Regions from separate parts of the Homo sapiens genome. Here regions 2, 3, 4, 5, 6 and 7 are each linked to region 1. Evidence: promoter capture Hi-C in 16 types of primary human blood cells and fetal thymus (Javierre and others, 2016). All regions are on one chromosome and are shown on one strand. The core of a region is centred on a gene start or on the middle of the fragment in contact, and the rest is flanking DNA. Distances in the headings are between cores, read along the strand shown. Region 1 holds the start of GRID1 (glutamate ionotropic receptor delta type subunit 1). Region 2 has its middle 330 kb from the start of CCSER2. Region 3 has its middle 350 kb from the start of CCSER2. Region 4 has its middle 260 kb from the start of CCSER2. Region 5 has its middle 400 kb from the start of LINC01519. Region 6 overlaps CCSER2 (coiled-coil serine rich protein 2). Region 7 has its middle 190 kb from the start of CCSER2.

What was found. Contacts are between HindIII fragments. The CHiCAGO score rates a contact against its expected background, and 5 or more counts as called.
Region 2: a fragment that was not itself captured here is called in contact with the fragment with the promoter of GRID1 in region 1 in 2 of 17 cell types (endothelial precursors and total CD4 T cells); the score reaches 7.8 in endothelial precursors.
Region 3: a fragment that was not itself captured here is called in contact with the fragment with the promoter of GRID1 in region 1 in 1 of 17 cell types (endothelial precursors); the score reaches 5.6 in endothelial precursors.
Region 4: a contact is called between a fragment that was not itself captured here and the fragment with the promoter of GRID1 in region 1, in 5 of 17 cell types (endothelial precursors, non-activated CD4 T cells, total B cells and 2 more). The highest score is 9.9, in endothelial precursors.
Region 5: a fragment that was not itself captured here is called in contact with the fragment with the promoter of GRID1 in region 1 in 1 of 17 cell types (endothelial precursors); the score reaches 6.5 in endothelial precursors.
Region 6: a fragment that was not itself captured here is called in contact with the fragment with the promoter of GRID1 in region 1 in 3 of 17 cell types (naive B cells, total B cells and total CD4 T cells); the score reaches 10.0 in naive B cells.
Region 7: a contact is called between a fragment that was not itself captured here and the fragment with the promoter of GRID1 in region 1, in 5 of 17 cell types (total B cells, naive CD8 T cells, non-activated CD4 T cells and 2 more). The highest score is 7.6, in total B cells.

The regions. Positions count from the first base shown.
Region 1 is chr10:86,365,363-86,368,062 of GRCh38, forward strand. GRID1 (glutamate ionotropic receptor delta type subunit 1) reads right to left here and starts at 1,433. Exons shown (of 16, transcript NM_017551.3): 1 at 952-1,433. The coding sequence starts at 1,030. RefSeq lists silencers at 742-891, 922-1,121, 1,352-1,401, 1,422-1,811, 1,922-2,131. The HindIII fragment of the contact is 11,562 bases long and covers 1-2,700 here.
Region 2 is chr10:84,660,602-84,663,301 of GRCh38, forward strand. No RefSeq gene overlaps it. Among named protein-coding and RNA genes, the nearest start is that of CCSER2, 330 kb to the left of the region's middle. The HindIII fragment of the contact is 2,160 bases long and covers 318-2,477 here.
Region 3 is chr10:84,678,620-84,681,319 of GRCh38, forward strand. No RefSeq gene overlaps it. Among named protein-coding and RNA genes, the nearest start is that of CCSER2, 350 kb to the left of the region's middle. The HindIII fragment of the contact is 5,451 bases long and covers 1-2,700 here.
Region 4 is chr10:84,591,648-84,594,363 of GRCh38, forward strand. No RefSeq gene overlaps it. Among named protein-coding and RNA genes, the nearest start is that of CCSER2, 260 kb to the left of the region's middle. The HindIII fragment of the contact is 4,549 bases long and covers 1-2,716 here.
Region 5 is chr10:84,797,852-84,800,551 of GRCh38, forward strand. No RefSeq gene overlaps it. Among named protein-coding and RNA genes, the nearest start is that of LINC01519, 400 kb to the right of the region's middle. The HindIII fragment of the contact is 8,386 bases long and covers 1-2,700 here.
Region 6 is chr10:84,395,832-84,398,531 of GRCh38, forward strand. The region is part of intron 3 of CCSER2 (coiled-coil serine rich protein 2); the gene reads left to right. Among named protein-coding and RNA genes, the nearest start is that of CCSER2, 69 kb to the left of the region's middle. The HindIII fragment of the contact is 156 bases long and covers 1,344-1,499 here.
Region 7 is chr10:84,519,122-84,521,821 of GRCh38, forward strand. No RefSeq gene overlaps it. Among named protein-coding and RNA genes, the nearest start is that of CCSER2, 190 kb to the left of the region's middle. The HindIII fragment of the contact is 4,470 bases long and covers 1-2,700 here.

The DNA of each region.
Region 1 (2,700 bases), core at 183-2,682:
AGCGACCGCTGTCAGCCCCCCAACTCGGCCCAACTTCCCGAGATTCCTCCCGTGTTGCTCCCAACTCCCACCCACTCCCCCTCGGCGCGCCCACTCCCCCTCGGCGCGCCCCCTCCTCCTCTGCGCTTTCATCTTCTCTCCCGGTTCTCTCTCTCTATCCATCTCTTCCCGCTCAGCATCCCCCTACCCCCCGCTGCCCACGCTTCTTCCCTCGGCTCCCACCACCCAGACCGTCTGGGCCCCCAAGACTTGGACCACGCAAAACTCTAGGACTGTCCAGGATGGGGATGCAGTCGCCACAACCAGATACACACGCACTCACACATACACCAAGGGCTACACAGACACACACCGGAGAAGCAGGCAGACACTGTGTCCACTCTAACAGGCTGACAGACAGTCGTGCACGCACCAACACACGCTCAGATGGCCCCACACACCCCAACACCCTCTCACAGTAACACCGACACCGTGCCAGGCGCACACAGCGACACACGCTGACAACACGCACCCACACACATTCACACACGGTTCCGGTCCGGCCTCTTTGATCTTGCCCTGCCAACTTGGCGAGCCCCCCGCTGTACCTCCCCCTGCCCCCCGCTGCTCTGAGCTGCGCAGAAGGGCCCTCCCGACCCGCCGACGGCCCCGCTAAGGGCGCGGGTCTCGACGCGCGTCCATCCCGGTGTTCCCCGAAGCGTCGGCCCTAAGTGTCGGTAGAGGCCGCGGGGCCCCGCGCGGAGATCGGAGCCCCGGGGAGCGGCAAGCAGCCAGCGGGAGCGCGGCGCGGCCGGTGCACAGCTCCTCCGCCGGGCGGCGCGGCGCGGCCCTTCGGGGGAGCACCGCCCGCCGAGCCCCTCGGCCCAGGGAAACGCCAAGTTTGGACGCCGCGCACCCCCTGCCCCGTTGGGGCCCCCGCCCAGCCTCGGCCCGGCCTCCAGCCGCGCTTACCGATGTGGATGATGGAGTCGGCCCGCACCGACACGCACTGGCATATCCAGGGGAGAAGCCACAGCGTCAGCGCTTCCATGTCCCCCGGGCGCGCGGCTCATCCACCCGGGCCCGGGGCGAGGCCGAGGGCAGCGCGAAGCGGGGAGGCGCTGGTCCCGGTGCAGTCCCGGGCCGCTCCCCGGGAGAGCCGAGCCCGCCCGTGCGTCTTCCCCCGCGCGCCCGCCCCTGCGCCCTGCGCCCGCCCCAGCCCAGCCCAGCCCAGCCCAGCGCGGTCGGGCTCCCGCTCCGGCTCCGGTGGCGGCTGCGGCGGTGCTGGCAGCTTGAGCCCAGGCCGGCGCGGCGGGGGCGGCCCGCGGCTGTGGCAGCGGCGCTTCCCGCGGCTAGAGCGGCTTCGGGGGAGGCTGAGGCGGTGGCGGCGGCGGCCGGGCCGGCGTGGCGGCTCTGGGCTGGCTGTGTGTCTGAGCCCCGGCGAGGAGCGAACTGCGGAGGACGCCCCCTCCCCTCCCCCTCCCCCTCAGCTCCGCTCCCCCTCCCCTCCCTGCCCGCCTCCCTCCCCTCCGCCCGCCTCTCTACCACGTGACTGCGGAGCCTCAGCCTCGCCGCGCGGCTCTCGCCCGCTCGCGGCTCGGAGGGGGCGCCGGGTGCTCCACGCTCCCGGCTCGGGGGACGCTCGGAGACCGGCACAGCGGCGGGGACCGGCCTGGGCTGCGGCGCGCCGAGCTCTGACGGTTCGGGCCTCCTTCTCCGGTTCGCCAGGGGCGGGAGAATGGAGGAGGGCCGGCCGCTAACTGCCCTCGAGGGGCTCCCGAAGCGCCCTGGCGACCTCAGCAGCCGCGCGTCTCGGGTCATGTCCCCGGCCGAAACAGACCGTTCCTCGTGGAGTGGGACCTGGGGAGCAAGAAGAGAGACCGGGGCGGGGCGCCGGGCCAGGCCCCAGGACAGCTGGGGAGCCAGAGGGGGCCGGCCGCCGCAAGCATCTCAGAGTAGAGCCCGGGCCGTGGGCTCGAACCCTGGCTGGCCGCGCGGACCTCGGCGGGCGCCCATCCCCCGCTCCATGGGCAGCGCGCTCAGCCGGGAGTCGGGCAAGAGGCTCGGACTCTGAAGCCCAATTCATGGCCGGAAACCAGCGCAGCCGTGACCGCGGCGCCTGGACGTGAGGAGCCTTCCAAGCGGCCGGCGGGCTCAGACTCCGACCCTGCACGGAGCTTTCATGTGCGAGCCCGGGCGAAGAGCCCGCTCCTCGCGGCCACAGCGGAACAGGGCTCCCTCCGCCTCCGGTGCCTGCCTCGGGCCGGCCACCACCAAAGAGAGCGTTAAGCTGTTGTGGGCTCGTGCCTGAAAGGGACTGGGCTCCATGTGGCACCCCCAAGATTTCGAGGAGACAGCTGAGCTTCCTGGGGTCTGGGACCTGGCAGAGCCTCGTTCAAAAGCTGCTCCTCCAGCAAGCCTGGGAACGTCCCCGGGCCCTGTTGTCCGCGGAGGGGCCCCAGGACTCCCGCCACGCACCAGGGGGAGAGGCTCCCACCACAGCCCTTGCCCAGAGCTCCCAGCGCAGTGGGCGAGGCAGACACCCAACCAAGTCATCTTTTAAATGTTGGGGGGGGCTATGAATGAGCTGTGTATGCTCAGATGCCTGGGCTCTGAACCAGCCTGGGAAGAAGAGCAGGGATGACTTCCTGGAGGAGATGACAGTTGTAAAGACTGAGTGGAGGTTCCCAAGGGAGAAAATAAGGCTTCCAGGCATTGAAT
Region 2 (2,700 bases), core at 148-2,647, 1.7 Mb before region 1:
ACTGAAAGTCAGCTCCTCTCCTGTCCTGCTATGAAGCATCGACCGGTCGCTGGCTGTTTTTAACACAAGCAAGCTCCACTTCTTTCTGAGGCTCCTCTGACGAGGTAGGGAGTGCAGCACCAGGCAGGCCCTCATCTTTCTCTGAGATTTACTGAGTCAGGGAGAGCATAGGGCAGCCCGCGTGGGGAGGGCTGAAAGTGCCCAGGCTCCTGGAGAAGAGATGAGGCACTGTGTAGGATTCGGGGCAGGGCAGAACTTTTCATTGCTGTGGCTCTTCTGGCTTTAGGGCTATCTGTAACAGAGCAGACTAAAGTGAAAGCTTTATAGGAAAGGGTTTATTTGAAAAGAACTGGTTGAGAGGAAGTGAGGTGTGAGCAAGTTCCAGGAAGATAAGTCTGGGCTGTGAAGAACCCAAGTTAAGAGCACCAAGGCAAGCAGGTCAGAGCCTGAATCTCAGGCCAATATTTTCCTTCAGGGCCGCCTTGTCCTGGGTTCATCTTTAGATGAGTTGCTCAGAGCTGGATTTTTCTTCCTCTTCCTGTCCCCACCCCTCCACTTACCAGCTTCTGGGTCTCTTTCTGGCCACTCTAACAACCAAACCATCTCACTATCACGTTTGTAAAGATGTCAGATAAACCCTAAATAAAGAAAAGCCTTTGATGCATAAAACATCAGGACTCCAGCCTCAGCTTTCCCTACCTGGGCATTGTGTAAAGGAGGAGAAGGTAGCCGGAGCCAGACAGTACATTGCTCTCCAGCAGAATGAATAGCAGCTGCAGAGCAGCAGCTGCAGCTCACACCTCCTGACGCCCCAATGAGTGTCCTTTCCACTACACAAAGGTCATTTTGAATGACTTTGGGGGTGTCAGATTACTTTTATTTTATTTAAAACCAGAAAATAACTTCCACTTCTGGGAACATATGAGTGAAGTGGAAACTCATGTAATGAGAGTTAGGAAAAGAGCTTGCGACAGTGGAATCGAGGACTTTCATCTGGAAGGAATGATCCTGCCTTTGAAGAGGCAGTTGTAGGAAGGTTTGATGTAGGCCAGATATGGAGAGTTCTGAGAATGAGTGGCAGAGTGACCAACTTAGACAGTCAGTTCAGTTCAGTCCAGCCATCATTTATTCAAGACCCAGCACAGGCCAGGAGCTGGGAAGGTGCCGGGCACATACAGAGAAGGCTAAGACATGGCTCTGCTATCGAGGAGCTCACATGCTTGTGGGAGAGCCAGAAATCAAAGAATTGCCCAAATGCAATGTGTGGTGAAAGCTCAGATGTCAGTATGTGAGGGTTGCTAAGGGAACAGAAAAGGAGACGTACTGCATCTGCTAGGGCTCAGAGGATGCATAGATGTCAGTACAATGCACAGTGCATGGGGAACTGCATACCTTTGGTCTAGGTGGGGCATAATGTGCAAGGTGGGGAGTGGGAAGTGGAAGATCTGAGAGTTTCCTGAAATCCAGATGACACGGGTCCTTTGAGGCTGTCATAAAGTGCTTAAAAATGGAAATCTACCCACAAGTTTTAAGCAGGGTGATAAATGAATCAGATTTGTGTTTGGTAGCTCCTTCTGGAACTATGTGTAGGGGGCATTCAAAAGAACAAAATCAGAAATGGACACCAATGAGGAGATGGCAGCAATCCTCAGGCAGGGGAGGCCGAGATGGACTGGAAAATATTTAAGAGGTAAAAGTTAGAAGGTGGCATGATAGGATGGTTGTTAGGAGAGAAGGAGCAGCTTACTTTCATGACTTATGGGCAATGTGGAAGGTGTTGTCATTGGCTGGGGTAAGGACTATTTAGTTTCACAAATGGAGACCTGTGGAGATGATGAAGGCTGAACACACATTTAAGGATTTTAGGGACATCCAGAGGAAAATTTCAAAGAATGAGTAAGATCTGATGTTTAGGAGAGAAGTCAAAACTGGAGCTAGAGATTTTGAAATATGCAGCCATGTATGAAGATAAAGTCTCCCAGAGAGGGTCTAGCATGTAAGAAGAACAGTGAGTCAGAAGCAAAACTCTTGGAACCCTAAACTTTAAGTTTAGGGTTAAACAGTAAGAGTAAGAGGGTTCCATGCAAGAGTAAGAGTAAGAGGGTTTCATGACTAGCAGGGCTAGTCATGAGGGGCTAGTCAGAGGGGAACCATGAAGGATTGGAGGGTGGGCTATTGTAGCAAGGGCCAGAATGGGGAATGGAAGTGCTGGAATAAAAAATAATGGTTGTTAGTGCCAGGTACAGAGGGGAGTTAAAGACAGGGAAGGACTGGGCTCGCTGGAGTGGGAATGGAAGTCTGGTTGCAGGAAGTTGAGAGTTGAATGAGATGCTGTGCAGACTGAGTTAGGCCACACTTTGTAGAAGTTCTAGTGAAAAGAGAAGAAGAATCTTACTAGAGGGAACACAACACCAGGGTTTTATTCTTGGGGTGGGGGAGGAGGAAAATAACATACCTATTTATAGAATGAGTACAGAAGCTTGGTGGAGTGGGCGGCTGAGGGTAGAGGAAGGGAAATTGATGGCGGGAGGACTTAGAAGATGCAGAGGGTGGACAGAGAGAACCTTTAGCCTTGGATAAAAAGGGGAACGGAGGGAAGGGGCCAGTTCTGGGTGTGGACCTACATCAGTTTATAGGTGACAGGAGCTAGAAGTCGAGGGAAATGATGCTTCTCTGTCTTAATGAAACAGGAGACAAAGC
Region 3 (2,700 bases), core at 113-2,612, 1.7 Mb before region 1:
CTTCCCTGGAGTGCAGGGCCTTTGGACTCATTCTGAATTACATCACTGCCTTTTCTGGGTCTCCAGTTGCTGATGGCAGATCATGGAACTTCTCAGCCTCCAAAGTTGTGCCAGCCAATTCCTTATTATCTATGTATCTCTCTATCTATTGTTAAAAAGGGAAAACCTTAAGCAAGTTTAAATTTATCAGTTTTTTAAGCAAAAAAAAAAAAAAAAAACCCTCCAACAGCAATGATTCATGAATCGAGCAGCCTTCAGAATGAGAATTTAGGCTTTAAAAACTCCTGTGTGCTGCATGGTCAGGCAGCATTTACGGACAGAAAATGGAAGTGGGGTGAAGAGTACAATGGCCTCCCACAAATTTTATTTAACACTATCTATCTTCTATTGGTTCTGCTTCTCTGAAGAAACCTGACAAATAATGATGTTTATTATGTTCTACTCAATGTTCTGAGCACTTTCCCTATAACAATTATTTAATTGTTATCACAGCCACATGCACTAGGTATCATTGTTAACATTTTCATGTTTCTGTAGAGAAAGCTGAGGCGTAAGAGTTTAAATAATATGCCTAAGGCCATTAGGGGCAGTGAGTGGGGGAGCTGGAATCTGAATCCAGGTTGTCTAGCTTCAGAGCCTAAGCAGTTAGGCATTCTGCTACACTACCAAGCACACTGAGCTCATTCTTTTAAGCAGTAATTCCGAATCTTTGTCTAGTTTATTTGGTGTTTAAGGGAATAGTCCTTAGATGCGTGTGACTTAATGGTAGACCATGTGCTAATTTTTGTAAGCCCAAAGGTACACCTTAAAATTTTTTTTAATTTTGCAAATTGTGACACTTTAGTCCTTTTCCCATGGAATTTCAATTTTAAGTTTTTGAGGTAGACAACCATATAATCTGTGAATATTGTTAATTTGATCATGTTGATGATATTATACCTCTAATTTATTTTTCATATTTTAGTGTATTGGCTCAGACTTCCAGGATGCTCTAATGTAATTTTGATGTCTTTTTTCTTCAGATTTCAATGGGAATGAATGTCTACAGTGGTCCACAGTGTGTAGGATATTAATATTAATTCATAGTTTTGGACAGAGATTCATGACCATAATGAGGGACTCTTTTTCATCACTTACATAGAGTCCTTAATAAGGAATAAATGTTTAGTTCTATCAAATGCCTGTTGGGGGGGTCAAATATGAATATTATCACATATAATTATATTAATTGAATGATTATGTTTGATGATGACGTGTTCTAATTACATCTATTGCTATAAAATGAACTTCCCCAATGGCTGGAAACAATAGCCATGATTTATTTTGCTCATAAATGCAAGTTGACTGGACTCAGTTCAGCAATTTTAGCTGGAGTAGAGAATGGGTAGTGTAGATTGGGGGTGGGGAATGGGACTGGGAGGTAGGGTGCAGTTTCTGTTATAGCTCTAAGGCAGTCTAGGTTAGACCAACCAGCCCAGGTTAGGGGTGGAGGCTTCAAGTCACCCTGATACTGGTAAGAAATCCTTCGGTGGCCTTGGGAGAGAAACAACTCAGCTTCCTTGAGAGATGTGTCAGAGCTCAGGGGAAAGCATCCACCATCCACAGGGTGCAAAAGAGGACTCGAGGCCCAAAACACGGAATGCCTGTTCAGGGAAAGAGTGGCTGGAGGCCAAGGGAGAAACTGGTTTGGGCCCCACAAAAGACTTTGAGGTGCCTGTGGATTGTTGGTGCTTGATCAGGTGGTCGGCACCTTAAAAAGAATCATACTTGACAATTCACTGTGAAGTCAGCGCCGCATACACTCTAGAAAGACAGCGGCAGCCAGCGGGGAATTGTTTTTGCGAATGTTTAGGCTGTAAAGAAGAAATACCTGAATGAATAAGTGAGTAAACGAAAATCACAGAGATAGGACATTTTCCAGAGGGATCCTGTGAGAGCTGTGTCCCTGTCTTTTCTCCAACCTTCAAAGACCAACTCCCTAACATGAAAATGCTTGGCTCAAGCCGGAGGCTGTTTGGGTACAACCTTCTAATTTCATTCCTTAGCTGTGACCTTGAATAAGCTGCTAAATCTGTGCCTCAGCTTCCTCATTTGTGAGATGGGTCAAAAACAGTATCTTCTGTCTAGGAATATGAATAAGGTTTAAATGAATATCTATCTATCTTCTATCTATATCAATCAGCTATCTATTATCTATCTCAATTATCTATCTATCTATCTATCTATCTATCTATCTATCAATCATCTATCTACTGTCTTCCAGCATCATCAGGCACTACATAACCACTTTTGGTTAAGGTTGGTCATTGTTATTTTTTTTTTTTCTGAGACTCTATATACAGTCACTGGATCACTCTAAATCTCTTCTCTAAATATTTCTCATCCAAATCCATCATGTCTCATCAACACCAACTACAACCCTACAGCTGCCTCATAATCCTTAGTCTCCCTGATTCAAACCTCAACTTGGATAATTTTCCATACCAACTATTTGAAAAGCGCAGCTATGCTCTAGTGATTTCCTTATTTTATCAGCTTTCAATCTAAACCCTTTTGCCCTACATTCAAGACTTCATTTCATTCTTTACTATGGAAATATACACACACACACAACATATACATATATACTTAGACACATACACACACAACATCTACACATACACTTAGACACATGCATGCACATACATGTACATATATACT
Region 4 (2,716 bases), core at 164-2,663, 1.8 Mb before region 1:
TTAATGGGGTATCACTTCATCACCCAGGCTACAGTGCAGTAGCATGATCAGAGCTCAGTGCAACCTGGACCTCCTGGGCTCAAGTGGTCTTCCCACTTCAGCCTCCCAAGTAGCTGGGACTACAGGTGCACACCAGCATGCCAGGCTAATTTTTGTATTTTTTTTAGGGATGGTTGTCTCACTATGTTGCCCAGGCTGGTCTTGAACTCCTGGCCTCAAGCAATCATCCTGTCTTGGCGTCCGAATATCCTGGGATTACAGGCGTGAGCCACCACACCCAGCCTGGCCTCTGAGTTCTTAAAGGCAGCTCTGACTACTCTCTGTGTTCTCATAGCTCAGAGCAGTGCCTGGTCCACTCTTGGGAGGTGCTCCATAGATAGTGAATTTGTTAAACACTGGAAGCAGCATGGCTTTATTTACATTTATTATAAGCCATGAGAAGAGCCTGGCAAACTTTCTTAAATAAAACTAAATTGTCTTTCATGAAAACTCACTTCTGAGAGCCACAGGTAAATATGTGTTTGTTTATTTAAGATGAAAACGTGATTCTCTTGACTGTGAGTGCTAACCCAGAAGGCTGATTAATATCAGCTACACTCAATCAATCAATCATAATTTGAACACTTTACTTCTTGAAAATGGAGTTTCTTTCAAGAAAAAAATATTGAAATAGGTATTGTTTATTTAAGACTTAGCCCTAAACATAAAAAACAATCTTGCAATTTTAGTTGACCGTTAACTTAATGTGAGCTCCTGTGTGATGTGACTGTTAGGAATATACCGTGAATGTAGGCTGCATGAGGAGAAATGGACATGCTTTTGTGGTAGAGACTTTTATCTTTTTTACTTTACCTTGGAAAATATCTGCTCTGTGATAAGCGGAATAATGCTTCCCCCACCAAAGATCCCCATGCCAATTCCTGGAATTGGTAAGTGTTACCTTACATGGCAAAAAGGACTTTGTGATGAAGATTTAAAAATGTGGTAGGAGAGATTATCCTGAATTACTGTGTGGGCCCAATCTAACCCCGAGTCTCTAAAAGCTGAGAACCTCTCTTGCCTGTGATCAGAGAGATGTGAAAATGGAATAAGGGTCAGAGAGGTGCCATGTTGATGGCTGAAGATGGAGAAGAAATCACAAGTCAAGGGCTGTGGGATCCTCCTGAATCTGGAAAAGGCAGGAAAACTGATTTTCCCCAGAGCCTCCAGGAAAGCGGCTCAGCCCTGCCAGCACTCCAACTTTAGCTCAGTGACCCATGTTGGACTTCTAGCCTAAAGAACTGTAAGATAATAAATGTGTGTTGTTTCAAGCTGCTAACTGTGGTAATTTGTTGTAGTAGCAATAGGAAACTAAGATCACTTCTATTAAATCTTAATTAATCAATATCATGAGGGCAACAAAAAGTAGGGGAAGAACAAATGAATGTTTTCTGAGATCCTCCCTGGAGCACTCAACACACTGACCTTGACCTTTTCTGAATTTCAAACTTCTTGTCATCTGTGCTATTCATTTGGCGTTAGATCATGGGCCATTGTATGTGGTTATAGCCTATCTCTTTGTCAAATAAAGGCCTGTCCCTCCTGCAAGAGGCTTGGTCCTTGGGACCACAGCTCAGTGCCTAACGTGGAGCCTCTTCCCTCTGAAATGTGAGGTGCTCACCCCACATTTGTGTGTGATCCCTATGGTCCCCAGGACCATTAGCATGCACTTAACAATAAAATAGCTTCAATATGTATAGTCTGAATGCTGGTGGCTGTTTACTCCCACAGTGGAGGCAGGATCTCAGCCTTCCATGTATGCTTAGAGATCTTGGAGTTCCTAGGAAAGTCAGGTGGGCTCTCAATCGGCCCAGTCCTTTTGTCCTATTCTGGTCTCCAAGTTGAATTCCTTCTGGCTGTTGCTTGAGAGAGGCCCCTCCACTCCCTCGCCTCCCTGCCCTTTTATAAAGCCCCAATTCTCACTCTGGCTGCTGCTTCCCAGAGCTCTCCAAATAGCATTGCTCCCCAAGGGGCTCCACATTATTGCATATGCTTCTGTCTTCTTGAATTCAAGTGGGCCGTGTGCCAGGGAGAAGTGGGGCCCCCCCCCTTCTGTGCCACTTTTTCATCCAGGCCCCGGGAGCCCCGCCTGTGTCTGGAGCCTCACAGCGTACTCATGAAAGCAACTCTCGGCTTTTACTTGCAGTCACTTTTTCCCTGCAGGGTAAGCTAGAATCAAGCTAGCCTTCATTTGTTCATTTCTATTTTTCGCTCTTGCCTAGAAACCCATGTGCCATCCATGCAAATAAGCCCTAGGACAGGGGAAGGGCTTCTGCTGATGGAAGAGGGAGCTGGCTTGACCCCAAATCCCAATTCGAAAATGGTGAGGACCCAGGTTGTGCCATGCATACCCTAGCGCATGCCAGTAGCTTTCGATCTTTAGAAGCTGATTCCATGAATCCTTTGAATTTTCCTGTTTAAACCTTTTTGCTCATGCCTGAGACCCATGTATAAGATTATCAGACACAAATAGGTTGGGCCAGAAAAAAATGTCAGTTGGAGTCTGCAGATGGCACAGAGAGGAAGACCAAAGCGTGGGTCACACTGGCGAGGCACAGGTGTGTGGGGAGCGCAGGGTGAGAATTAAAAAGTGGCCCCAAGTTCCCGGAGTGGGCTTCATGTCACGGACTTGGTGACCTACCCTGCGTGTGGGTCTATTATTTTATTTTTATTTTTT
Region 5 (2,700 bases), core at 195-2,694, 1.6 Mb before region 1:
AATTTAGGCAAGTTATTAAACTTCTATGTGTGTACATATGCTTGTACATTAGCCATGTAGGCATGAACACCTATGCATAGTTGCATATACTGGCACATATACACTGGAGGGTGGCTGATGCAATTATTAAATATATTATTTGTAAAGTACTAGCACTGTGTCTGATGTTCAAAGGATGAGAGCTTCTTAGTATTTTCTCCCTCTTTTCCTTCCCTTCTGCTTTCGTATGTGTGTGTGTGCCTCAGAGAGAAAGAGTAGTAACTCACTCAGTTGGAAAAGAAAGCTGAAAAAACACAAAAAACAAAACACAGCGATTGCCTTGGCTTCAGGCATTTCAACCTATAGCTTTAACAATTTTGCTCCTGAAAGTGACCATTTCTTTTAGCTAAACTGACTGTATGGAGCAGAGGCTTTGACATTAGGTACAAGAATAGGTAGAAGAGTGTTACTGCTGGTAAGGGCTCATTTTGCCTTGTAAAATAGATGTGAGTGCAGCCTTTTCTGGGCAGAACTAGATGTGGTCCCTGGACAGACCCCAGGCTGCATGTGAAAACTGCAGCACTGTTTTTTCCCTTTCCCCTCTCGGTGCTCTCCATCCTCATAGAAATGGTGGTTGTGCTGCTGCACCTGGATTTTGTTACCGTGGTTACAGATGCAGTCCCTGGTGGAGAAGGGGAGGGAGCCGTATTTTTATAAGGGCAAATTGTACTGACATTTAGATTGGAGGCATCACAATGAAGAACGACTGCTGGAGAATGGATGAGCATGTGTTCCCTTTGCAAGTGGGATGTTGGGAAGACTCCTGCCTCCTGCCCTTTCTCAATGTTTGTGTGTGTGTAGCGGGGAGGAAGGGGTGTGGACTCAGCCCCTAACATATTCAGAGGACCAAGATTCTGGTCGGGAATAGAAAAAGAGCCTTTTTCAGTGAGATTTTGAGGGGTCAGGGCTGAATTAGAAGTTTCTCAACAGATGCTGTAAATTATATCAAACCATAGTCCGATCTGAATAGAAAGCCAAATCCCCAAAGCCTAAAGGAAATGGGAAGGGTAGCCAAATGTAAAGAGCTGGCAATGATGTGGCAGAGAGGGAGTCAGCAGTCTGAGGATGAGGGAGACAGGAGCAGTACACGGTGCGCAGATTAGAGCCTTACCTGTGGAAGAGACTCATGTTTGCAGCCTGCTTCTTGGGAGTGGTGCCTGCGTGGGCTGGTGGAACTTATTTACTAGGGGGAATCTAGCTGAAGGATGCCTATGTCATTTGGGACATGGAAGAGCCAACCAGGCTGCTGAGCTGGGGCTTCTTCCCCATCCTTACAGAAAATGATGTTTTTAAGGATAAATCGGTTGCAAAAGTTTTCTTCTGATCAGTAACAGGCTTAATGTATATAAAACGTCTCCATTCACAGAAGTGCAATTGTCACTGGATCTTCCAGTTTTCCTTGTTGGTTAGCCAATCAGTCAGTTAGTCAAAAACATCTACGAAGTTTTCACTTCATGCCAGGGCTAAAGGGCTCAAGGTGCCTAAGGTTGAAATGCTATTTTTTTTTTCAATTTTTAATTTCTGATAATTTCAACTTTTATTTGAGATTCAGGGGTACGTGTGCAGGTTTGTTACATGGGTATATTGTGTAATGCTGAGGTTTGAATGATTGATCCTGTCACCCAAGTAGTGAGCTTAGAACCTAGTAGTTTTTCCATCCTTGCCTCCTCCCTCCCCCTCTTGTAGCCCCCAGTGTCAACTGCTGCCATCTTTATGTTCATAGTACCCAATACTTAGGTCCTGCTAAGTAAGAACATGCAGTATTTGGTTTTCTGTTCTTGTGTTAATTTGCTTAGAATAATGGCCTCCAGCTACATCCATGTTGCTGCAAAGGACATTATTTTGTTCTTTTTTATGGCTGCAGAGTATTCCATGATGTATATGTACCACATTTTCTTTATCCAGTCCACCATTGACGGGCACGTAGGTTGATTCAATATGCTTGCTATTGTGAATAGTGCTGTGCTGAACATGTGTGTGCATGTGTCTTTTTGGTAGAATGATTTATTTTCTTTTTGGCATATACCCAGTAATGGGATTGCTGAGTCAAATGTTAGCTCTGTTTTAAGTTCTTTCAAAAATCTCCAAACTGCTTTTCACAGTGGCTGAGCTAGTTTACATCTCCACCAACAGTATTTAAGCATTCCTTTTTCTCTGCAGCTTCACCAGCATCTGTTGTTTTTAATAATAGCTTTCTGACTGGTGTGAGATGGTATCTCTGAAATGCTATTCTTTTGTTCAACCTCAGTACCCTCACCTTAACTCAGCATCCACACTCAGAATTTAAGCATACTCTCCCTAAGGACAGGAATTGGGTTACAGGATATCGGAGAATGACAAACACAGAGTCGTGGAAAAAGTCTTTGATTGGCTATTGATCTAGCCTTGGCCTTCAAGCAGGCAGATGTTCACGGGCTCCTTGGAGCCCCTGTGCCAGTTGCCAACTCAGCCAGCCAAGAGTCCAGGACTGTGTAGATAGAGGGGCTGCTTTGTCCACTCTTAACTTGTATTTCTGATATTGTGGAAATTAACTGGAACTGCTTAACATGAATACTTGGAGAGATGAAGAACTTGTGTCTTCCATGTTCCCATTGGTCAGTCTGGAGAGAATGTATTTACCAACTTGTGTGTATAGACGAAGTGATATAGACTTCTGTTTGT
Region 6 (2,700 bases), core at 172-2,671, 2.0 Mb before region 1:
CCTGCCCTAGCCCTTGAGTCATTATGTCTCCAAGGAAGATTTTTATTGGAGAATGAGATTTAGAAACCAAGATCTGGGGCCTAGGTGTGTTCGTTGCTACTGAGGTGTAATTACTTTTAGTTATTGTGGCAGACAGAACTGACAATTATATGTATACACACACACTTCTCTTCTATATTTATTTCTGTATCCATTTCCGTATATATTAAAGACCAAGAGCTCACACGGATACCTTTGACTCCAATCAAATGCCACAGAATTTGTTCTAGCCTTTCTTCTTATTTTTAAGCCTTTTCTCAGAAAGTGAGAAACTTGGTTTCTCAACCACAATATATTTTCTTAGTTATTCAACACTGTGTGTGTGTGTGTGTGTGTGTGTGTGTGTGTGTATAAGGATTATAGTATATATTCATACATAGTTATAGATATAGTATATATAGTATATTATATACCATAACTATACTATATTTATACTATATTATATACACACAGTTTCAGAATTGCTAACTTACACCCTATGAAAAAGATTTACTAACTTACAATATTTGTTTAGCATTTTTTTTTTAAACCTTAACCTTACAGAATACAATAAGTACTGTTTTCCAAGTTTACTTACGTTAGTTGTTTTAGTTCTCAATCCTTTCAGCGTGATTGTATTATTCATTTGTAATACTTTTAGGTTCATTTGTTGCTGTTTGTATTTCGTTTTGGGTTCTGCCCACATCGTGGTTTATTTAAAGTACTCATTTATTTCATGTTACTTCATAGAGATCTTCCCTTTTCTTCTTTTTAAAAAAATATTTTATTTTTAAATTTTAACCTATGTATGTATTTGTTTGTTTATTTTGAGACTGGGTTATGAGACTGGCTAATTTTTGTATTTTTGGTAGAGATGGGGTTTCACCATGTTGCCAAGGCTGGTCTTGAACTCCTGGGCTTAAGTGATCGACCCGTCTTGGCCTTCCAAAGTGTCGGGATTACAGGCGTGAGCCACCACACCTGGCCGAGATCATCCTTATTCTTTTTGTACCGCTGTATACTACTTATTTTGTAGATTGTGCATTGTTTATTCAATTACTCTCCCAACAATGGGCATCAAGATTGTTTCCAATATTTTACAGTTATAAACTGCCGTAATGACTATGCTAGTATAGAGCAGTATTATTTTTGTAATTTAGATAAAAAAACACATCTACCACCTTACTTGTGTCCATACCAGCTCCTATTCAGTTGTGTAGAAACTTCTGCATATAAAAGTGCTAGTCAGTATTACTATATGAAAGTTGCTATGCATGGTATTCTATTTTCCTAGAACATTCCAGTGACTTTCTACTCTTACCTAAAGCTTACTGGTAAATCTTAAGTGCATTGATTAATAAATCTCTGGTATTACCATAATCTACTCATAAAATCATCCTATGATATTTTTATTACCACCTCCCCCAAAGTATAATGTCCTTAAGATATGAAATTCTGCAGTAAAACAGAACAAAAAGAAAAGCTTTTAAAAAATGTTACTGAAACTTCATTTGATGTAATATACAAAAATGTGATGGGGCTGTCCTCAGGTTAAATGGGCACTGATGGATGCACTGTAACTTGACTGGTTTGAGGACAGAAAATTGAACCTAAAATAAGGAAATTCTGACTGCTAAAGGAATTGAGGTCACTCAATACATTCATTTTCTCTCATCTAACAAAAAGACTACACATACCACTAATGCACTTGGCATTTTGATTTATTAAATATATATGTTAACTGAAGTCTGCCACCGACTGTTATAATCAGTATAGCTGAAATTACTCATCTGAAGCCTGTGAAGGCTGAAGTAAAAAAGTAAATTTTAAAAGGCTTAAGTAAAGTCCAGTCAAGCAAAACTTGATTTGAGCTTACTGCTGAGGTCTACAACATATTACATTACTGCAACCATTAGAAGTCCCACCAGTCACACCTGACTCTTCTCCTTTTTCAGGTGCTAATGTGCTTCTGTAGTGGCCTATTTCTGTTTCAGCCTTTGTAAGGCATCACAGAAAGGAAGGAACAAATATTTAAATTATAGAAAGTGAATGCAGTAAGTATAGGATTGACTCTAAAACAGTAGAAACAAATAAGCCTAATTATAGCATTTGAGAAACAGGGTGTATTCGTTTTCTCTGGCTGCTGTGACAAATTACCACAAATACAATGGCTTAAAACAACACACTGTTTGTTATCTTACTATCCTCTCTAGCTTACAAGTCAGACACATGTCTCTGCAGGCTAAAATCAAGATGTCAGCAGGGCTAGGTGCCTTCCTGGAGACTCGAGGGAAGAATCCATTTCCCTGTCTTTTCCACCTTCTAAAAACTGCCTTTGGTTCATGACTTCCTTCCTCTGTCTTCAAACCGAGCAACACCGCACCTCTTTGACCATTCTCCTTCTGTCTGTCTTCTGCCTCCCTCTTCCATTCTGAGTGATTATTATACATTGGGCCCCCTCAGATAATCCAGGATAATACCTCTATTTTAAGGTCAGCTGACTGGCAACCATAATTCCCTCTTTGCTATGTAAGCTATCATATTTACAGGGATTATTCTGCTTATCAGGAAAATTATTTCATTTCTCTGAAACTCCTGTTTTTATTGTAGTAGAATTCTTAAAATATTTTGAGAAGCCATAATTTTAGCATGGAGACACGCCAAAATGAAACAATATTTGTT
Region 7 (2,700 bases), core at 129-2,628, 1.8 Mb before region 1:
ATAGCACTTATTACCTCTTAAGACACCTGTATGAACTTTAAGGCCATCTGAGTTCTTAGTGTTGCAGAATTTTGCTCCTTAGGTCGGCTAAATCGGGGTTCTTGTGTCAGGACCAGGAAAATGTAGACACATGGACACATTGAAGTGTGTGGGGAATGGAATTCATTGGGCAAAAAGGAAAAAAAAACTCAGCAAAGCAAGGGGGGAATCCTGCTAACAGGCCCCCACCTCACAGATAAGTTCCAGGCCACCACACATGTGAGCTGAAGAGCTCAGGCTCTTCCCTCCTGCCCAAGGCTGGAACTTCCCGTGGCTCCACCCAGTTCTCCCAGTGCACAAGCTGGTTGGAGATTCTCTGAGGACCCTCCCCCTTATTGGCCTTCTGCATCTATCATTAGCAAGTACTTTCTTATACTAAAAATTTTCCCTTTTAATTTTGTCATTAAGTGTAGTCATTTCAGTTTCTTCATTTATGCTGTTGATTGCGCGTTTTCCATTGTGAAAATATTTTATCCCTACAGAAAAGACAAGCATGAGTTAAAGAATTGACTTCTTCCTCTGTTAACTTGGTTTAAGTAAGTTTGATGGGATGTCTTACCTGTGTCACTTGCTGTGCTGGCTGCAGGGTGTACAAAGGTAACGATGATACAGGTTCTGCCTTATGGAGCTTAGGAACCCTAGGGGATTTTTAACATCATCCGATCCATTGCAGCACTGAGCCCTTCCCTTGCATTCCCTGTTTATTATCTTCCTTTGAACCTACCAGTCTCTTTTGACGTTTCCTCTTCAGTTTCATTTCATTCTGGGCTTTAACTCCCTTGCACTATTCTCCTCTTGGATTCTATATTATGTTTATTCTTGTTTGGTTGCATGCCTTCATTTCCCTAGAAAACCTGGCCTTTTATTATTTTATCCAAGAACGAACTTCCTCTTTAGCCACTATTAAATACTCTGCTTTCTACTTTAGGTTCTTGGAATTTGATTTTAAGACTTCTCGACTATCCTAAGGCCACTGTCCCTTTTAGAACCTCAACCCATAAGATGTTGCTTTCTGAAGTCTACCTTTAACATTCAAATTCATGTCCGGGCTTTTCCTTCCATCCCATTCTCTTGGATAGATCAAATATAATATGGTCTACTTGATGTTTTCAGTTTCTATTTTAATTTTTAATTTTTATGGATATATAATAATTATACATATTTATTAAATACCTGTTATTTCGATACAAGCATACACTATAATCTGTGTAATTGGGATATCCATTGCCTCATTTATTTCTTTGTGCTAGGAATATTTCAATACTACTCTTCTGGTTATTTTGAAATATACAATAAATTATTGTTAACTATGGTCACTGTACTGTGCTACTGAACACTAGGTCCTATTCATTCTAACTGTATTTTTGTACCCATTAACCATCCCCTCTTTATCCCACCTCCCCACCACCCTTTCCAGCCTTTGGTAACCACTATTCTACTCTCTACCTCTGTTAGATCATTTCTTTTTTATCTTCCACATGAGTGAGAATGTGCAACATTTGTCTTCCTGTATGTGGCTTATTTCACATAATGACCTCCAGTTTCATTCATGTTGTTGCTGGTTTCCTACCATTTCTTGCCATGGAGTCTCTAAGGAGGAATTTAGGTCATCCAGAGAAGCCTTTTCCTCACTGATGAATTCTCCCACCCACCCATGCACACAGCCCTCAAATTAGCATCTTTTCTGTGCAAAAATCAGAGAGGAAGAAACAGTTCCTCACAGGCACTTCTCTGGTTTCTCAACCTGAAAAATGGTATTGCTACTTTCCAGATCTCAAAACAACCCACTCCTTAATCCTCACATGAATTCATTCAGACACCCATTTTGAGTATGAATAATCCTTTGGTAATACTTTAAGTGATTACAGAACAAATGCTTTCTGCAGCAAAAGTATACCTGAAATATCAGTCTACTAAAGTGAAAGGTAACTATTCCCCACAAGAAACATGGTTGAAATGCTTGTTTTGTGCACAGCCCTCGTTTCTGTCTCGTGGCAGGAGGTGGATGAGACGGAGACCCTGCGATTGAAGAGATCAAATTGCAACATGACAAGAAGGATCCCAAACAAAGCACTGTAAGAGAGCCAGTGGGCAGGAAGGGGACGTTTGGGACCACAGGTGAACTCGCTTCCAAAACCATTCATCCTTGACAAATGTGCATGTGTGTTAGGATTTCTTTTTAATTACAGCTAAATAAAAACTAGGCCACTATCACATAACCTGTAGTGGTAACGATACATTCCACGAACCTGAGGCCTTTTTAAGCACGTATCAGTTCAAAATACTTCTGAATTATCAGGAATTTAAAAAATTTTCACAAGTTTTAGCTGAGGTTTTGCATTTATAGTAGGTCAAGTGCAAATGTGAATTGCAATGAAAAACAAAAGTAATAGGAGTTGTGATGGATTGTTAATGCAAATGGTTTCTTAAATTGTGTTCCAGAGTTTTGCTGAGATGCAAACACAGATGCTCTAAACTCCCTGCTGCCAGGGGCCGCCTCCACCAGGTTCAAAGATTCAGGACTAGTCAGAGCTCACAGGAGGTGTTTGGGAAAGGGTTTGGGCCAGACCTGGGCACTCAGAACCCTGGTCCTTGGTCTGACTACTCTCATTCTAAGAAAAATTTCAACTAAGGGAAGGAAAGCAGAGCACACAGTGCTTT